Linked DNA regions of Homo sapiens: region 2 is linked to region 1. The links are contacts of gene promoters, found by promoter capture Hi-C in human tissues and cell types (Jung and others, 2019). All regions are on one chromosome and are shown on one strand. Each heading gives the region's core, a stretch centred on a gene start or on the middle of the fragment in contact. The rest is flanking DNA. Distances are from core to core; before and after follow the strand shown.

Region 1 (2,914 bases), core at 282-2,781:
TTGTCCATGTTTTTCTGGATTGTGCAGTGATGAAGCACATGACTTAAGAGAAGAGTAGCCCAGGCTCCCTGAACTTGACTGCACGTTGCAGAACCACACCCCGCTAACGGCCACAGGAAAGGACCCCAATGGTGAATGGTATAATGCTTTATGCAGATTTCATAATGCACAGGAATAAGAACTGAAAGGATGCAGCCCTGACCAAGGTAGTTTCTTTCTTTTTTTCTTTCTTTTTAACTTACCTACAATTCAGAAAATTCCTCCTTACTGCAGGGTTCCTAGCCTATTCCACACTTAGAGTCAAGTGGAAAATAAATTAAAAAGGAAGAAAATGTTTTGTTGTTGATACTTAACTTGATTGGTACGGGGACATCTACCCAAATGGTGAGCTAGGGTAGGACTCCTTCAAATAAAAATGCACAGTAATTCTTCTTGCAGGCAACTTTAGGGGTACACAGCTGAGGCCTGAGGGATAGATACTTGTCTATTTAACTTGCAATGAAGAAAGAAACACTTCTTTCAAGAAAGACGCTTCCATTTAAGAGGAAGGTATTGAAAATGCTTCCGAGGCCAGGTGTGATTGCTCATGCCTCTAGTCCCTTTGGGGGACTACCAAAAATACAAAAATTAGCCAGGCATGGCTCGCATTTGTAGTCCCAGCTCTTCAAGAGGCTGAGATGGGAGGATCAGCTGAGATGGGGGAGGTTGGGGCTGCAGTGAGCAGTGATTGCGCCACTGCACTCTAGCCTGGGTGACAGAGCGAGACTCTGTCTCAAAAAAAAAAAAAAAAAGAAAGAAAGAAAAGAAAAGAAATGCTTACGAAATGATATCAAGCAAAAAAAGAGGGCACAAAATTATATGTATGTGATATTTACTTCATTGTATACACATTACTGAAGAAAATTATGGAAGAATATATACCAAAACGTTAAGAGTGGCTGTCTCTGAGTCATAAGTTTACAGATGATTTTAATTTTTCTTCATATTTTTCTACAAAGTGCATGTATTATTATTATTTTTACTATATGTATTTATTATGTATGGCAAGAATGCATGAAATAAATATGTATAGTAAAAGTTTATTTTTATTATATATTTTATTATTTTTAATATATATTTTACTATTTAAGTATAACTAATTAGATGAGGACAAAAGGGCAGACCTGTGGTGACTCCAGTTACCCTTCCCGTAACTACAGAGGTGCCCAGTCACCTGCTTGGTTATGTCACCCTGGGGAGTAAAAGAATGGTCTTCCTGCTCCTGCCTGACTCACCCTATCCTGCCCCAGCCCAGTGCCACAGAAACATACTTGCCAAGGGACATCAATGAAAGCAGCAGCGTGGTGCACCTCCCAGGGGTCAGGCTGCACCCTTGTCTCATGGGCTTCTGCAGCCCCTGTCCCCACCTAAGTTACTCCTTGGGGAAACATGGCCAAGCCCCCTGGCTGAATGGGTGGACTGAGCTCCCACAGCATGACATCAGCTAGGGCGGGCTCCCCTCTCAGCTGTCCCCTCCCCTTTCCTCCCGCCTGAAACATGATCCAGCTGAAGGACTGATTGCAGGAAAACTTGGCAGCTCCCCAACCTTGGTGGCCCAGGGAGTGTGAGGCTGCAGCCTCAGAAGGTGTGAGCAGTGGCCACGAGAGGCAGGCTGGCTGGGACATGAGGTTGGCAGAGGGCAGGCAAGCTGGCCCTTGGTGGGCCTCGTCCTGAGCACTCGGAGGCACTCCTATGCTTGGAAAGCTCGCTATGCTGCTGTGGGTCCAGCAGGCGCTGCTCGCCTTGCTCCTCCCCACACTCCTGGCACAGGGAGAAGGTAAGCAGACTTCGGGAAGCAGCAGGACTTGGCTGACCATCTGCTGAGGTGGGGCAGGGGATGCTTCAGTCCTCCGAGGGCTGTGGAGAGGAGGGTGGGGAACAGTGCAGCTGCAGGAAGGTCAGCTATCTTACCACCTATGAGCATGACAGCATTTGAGGCATCATGGTTAAGCTAGAGAGAGTTAGGAATGTTGAGTCCTGGGGTGGGGCAAGAGCGGAGCTTGCAAAGAAGGGAGCAGAGAAGTAGCCTGGCGTATCAGAAATAAAAAGACAGGCACCAGGAGGGGGCTCCTCTCCTTTTTGTCCTTTCCCTAAACTATTTGAATGAAAGCTGCAAGGGACCTTAGAACTCATTGGGTCCACCCTTGCCTGTTATAAATGGGAATGCTGTGGCCCAGAGAGTGGGGAGCGGATAATTCATTCAAGGTCACACAGCTTGTTAGCAGCAGAGTGGGGACCAGAACTAGTCTAGTCCTCTTTCCTCAGCTTCACTGGTTTTGTTGCATGAGTTCGTTCTCTGGGCCTGCGGTTCCCCAAGTTCCTTTCCAGGACTAAACTCCAGTAACGCCCAATTTCTCTCCACATTCGCTACACCCATCTTCTCCTGACTCCCTTGAATGTAGGGTGTTTTAGCCACAAAGGGACCGGCTTCCTTTTGCTGCAGACCATGTTCATTCCCCTCTAGGAGGTTTCTCTCCCTACAGAGCTGGGGTGGAGCATACTGGGGCACAATTAGAGGAAGCCATCCAGGGGTTGGACAGACGTGAAGAGCTCTGGGTAAGATGTCCTTCCTCCCGGGAGCGGTCGTTTGGGAGTGCTCCGTGGGTTAAGCAAACGCAAGCTGTAAGTGATGACTGTGGTCGAGGGCTTCCTTGACTGAGAAGAAACTCTGTCCCTCCTAGCAATGGTCCTTTGCCCCGGGCCTGCTGGGATGAGTTCAGTGCTCTCCAAGCTGGTCAGGATCCCAGTCAATAGGACCCAGGCTCTTGCTGGTGTAGTAAAGACGCACACGGGTCTGCGTTTGAATCTCAGTTCCTCCACTTGCAGAGCAAGGTGCTCACCTTTCTGGTGCTTGGGGATCCTTGTGTGCAAATAG
Region 2 (2,914 bases), core at 229-2,728, 1.1 Mb after region 1:
TAAAGACATGTTGAGGTCCTCATCCCCAGTACCTGAGAATATGAACTTATTTGGAAATAGGGTCTTTGCAGATGTAATCAAGTTAAAACAAGGTCTTTTGGGTAAGTCCCTTCATCCAATATGCCGATGTCCTAATGAGAAGCAGAGAATGCCGTGCACTAACAGAGACTCCAGGTGAGGACAGAGGCAGAGATGGGGGCCATGCAGCTGCCAGCCAACAAGCACCATGGCGAGGACTGCCGGCCACAGCCAGAAGCTGGAAGAGGCTAGGAAGGATACACCCCGAGTCTCAGAGGGACCATGGCCCTGCTGGCAACTTGATTCCTGACTTCTACCTCCAGAATGTCCAGAGGGAAAAAATCCTGTTGTGTTCAAGCCGCCCAGTTTGTAGAACTTTGTTAGAGCCATGAGAAACTAATAGACTGCCCAACACCAATCCTTACTATCATCTGCCCATGGAGAGGCCTCTGAAGCCAGGGTTTCTATGCATTCCTCACTTTGTTCCTACACAGATTCACTTATGCATACATTTTTAGGGAGAGTATGCCAGGAGATGCAGTTGGAAAGGCCTGGGAAGCAGTGAGGAGCCTTAGAGAACAGGCTGTGGCTGGGTCTGGCTGGGAAGTCACGAAAGCCACTGCCCCAGTCAGCTCCCCTCCCAGCCTTCTCATGCTTTCTCCCTCACGCGGTTCCCTGAGGCCTTATCACATCATGGGAAGAACATGGGCCTTGGGGTCGGTCCCATCTAAATTTAAAACCTGGTTTCATTAGTTCTACTAGCTGTGTAACCTTACTCAGCCTCTCGGAGACTTTTTTCTCACCTGCAGATTGGGGGCTGTTGGGAAAATTAAATATTACATAATATGCAGCAATTGTACTGGCAATTATACTAGTATGAGTAGTAATCATGTGATGTGAGTCTCTGCGGCACCAATGCTTTCTTCGCAGATGAGAACTTACTTAACTCCTACAAAGATCTTCTGAGTGACACCTTTCCTAGCGTCTGTGCCATAGGCCAATGGCTGGTAAATTCTTTCTGATCATGGCTTGGTGAGACCTCTCAGCCAATCTTCCCGTTTGCTGGTAATGTTTAAAATGGTGCCCCCAAATTTCAGGTACTTTAGGAACATGAAAGAATTGTTCTCTAATAATGCCAAAAATATTATTGCAGTTAATGGGAAGAATGGTACTATTTTAAATAAACATGAGTGAAAATGTGCATTTTCGACTCAGCTATTGTTGTATAAATGAGTTGTGGACTGTGGTTCTAGATTTACTTCCAGAAAGACTCCCTTAAAGCCCCAGGCCGGAGCAGAGAAGCCACAGACAGGGCACTAAACTAATCTATAGGTGGAGACTGAAGCAAGATGAAGCTCCTGCTCCATCCCCATGGATAGGTCCACACCTCAGATATGCCCAGTGGTCAGCCCAGCTATTTTCAGGCAATCAAGAAGTTGGGACTATTTTTGACCGCTGATGATTTCATAATTTGCAGAGATGTTGATATCTCCATATGCCGCCTCAGAGTGTGATTGTCTCACAACAAGCATGAGAGAATCGCACCTCGGCAAGGAGTTCAGTAAATTCATCTGTGAAACATATTTCAATTCCAAAGGCAATTTTCTAATTAGAAAGGACACACAAAGCCTTCGCAATCTGTGAGCAGTTCTCTCAGCGGAGCTTGGTCCTGGGCTAAACCAAGCCTGAATATGAGTCACCAAGTGCCTTGCTAGTCCAAGACACGGGCTCCCCAAAACCCCAGGACCTTGGTTTGAAATGGAGTTGGGGCTCAAGGTCAGTCAGGCACCAGGACCTCCCCCGCTACCAGGACCATTTCCTTACAGACTGGCCCGGAAGCTACATGGACTTAGTAGGCAGGAGAGTCTTCACCCATTCAGCATTTATTTACTGACGATGTGCCAAGGGTATGACCAAGAAAGACATGATTCTTGCCATTCTGGGGCATACACAGGCACAGGGACACAGCCAAGAGAGCTGGGCCCTATTTCTAAAGGGAATTTGGAGCATTTGACAGAACAGGCAGACAGGGTACAGAAAAGGGCACCTCATGATGTAGCTCACCTTAGTAGGAGCCTTCCATTAAATCACATCCCACCTGGCGTCTCAGCCTGGCACCGAGGTCATTGAAAGTGGTCATTGTGAGGAGGAAGAGCTGATGCGGGGAGAGGAGACACCCAGGCTGCAGAAGCAGCAGCATCCCCATCTGTAAGCAGCGAGCGTGAATGCTCAGTCTGTCTTTCTTGATAGACTTGACTTTTAATCTCAACTTTACCCCTAACTCAATAGTCTTTACCATCTCCCCTTCCTGGTTCTCAGCTTCCCCCTCTCTGAACTAAGAAGAATCCTTCCCCACTCTTTCCAATGATCCATCAAGGTTGTAAAAGCCAGTGAGATTCTGAATGGACATGTGTTCAAGCTCTAAAGAAATCCCAAGAAGCGTCACCTGCAACCAATCAATCATTAAAAAAAAAAAAAAAAAATCTCCACAGGAAGCAGCACAGAGCTCCCAGGCGCTCCTGAGTTGCTTCCCTCGCTCTGTTGAATAGGGGTTTGCACCTTCGGAGCACCCTTCCTCTCTCTCCTTTACATCTCATTTCATTCCGGTCTCCTCTCCCCCAGGCCACACTCTCACTGATCCCAGAGTCCTGTGCCCCTCTTCAGCTCCAGCCGCCATCATCAGAAGCCTTGGGCATTTGTTTTCTCACTGCACGGGGCTGCACACTGATACATTTGTACCACAGGAAGCAGAAAACTAGTTTAACATCTCATTTATTTCATAGATGAGAAAGTAATTCCCTGCTGAATGATTGTCCCGAACCAACAATTCAGAGAGGAGGAATTTACAGTGCTGGCAAGGACCGGGGTGCATTACTGTAGCGCCGTTATATAACGG

What was found. The method cuts DNA at HindIII sites, captures the fragments that hold promoters and counts their contacts. A contact is called where the count stands out against the background at its distance.
Region 2: a fragment that was not itself captured here is called in contact with the fragment with the promoter of HTR3A in region 1 in 1 of the 25 tissues and cell types used here (lymphoblastoid cells).

The regions. Positions count from the first base shown.
Region 1 is chr11:113,973,577-113,976,490 of GRCh38, forward strand. It overlaps HTR3A (5-hydroxytryptamine receptor 3A), which reads left to right and starts at 1,532. Exons shown (of 9, transcript NM_000869.6): 1 at 1,532-1,816. The coding sequence starts at 1,750. RefSeq lists enhancers at 1,095-1,756, 1,757-2,416. The HindIII fragment of the contact is 12,101 bases long and covers 1-2,914 here.
Region 2 is chr11:115,068,878-115,071,791 of GRCh38, forward strand. No RefSeq gene overlaps it. Among named protein-coding and RNA genes, the nearest start is that of CADM1-AS1, 330 kb to the right of the region's middle. The HindIII fragment of the contact is 6,637 bases long and covers 1-2,914 here.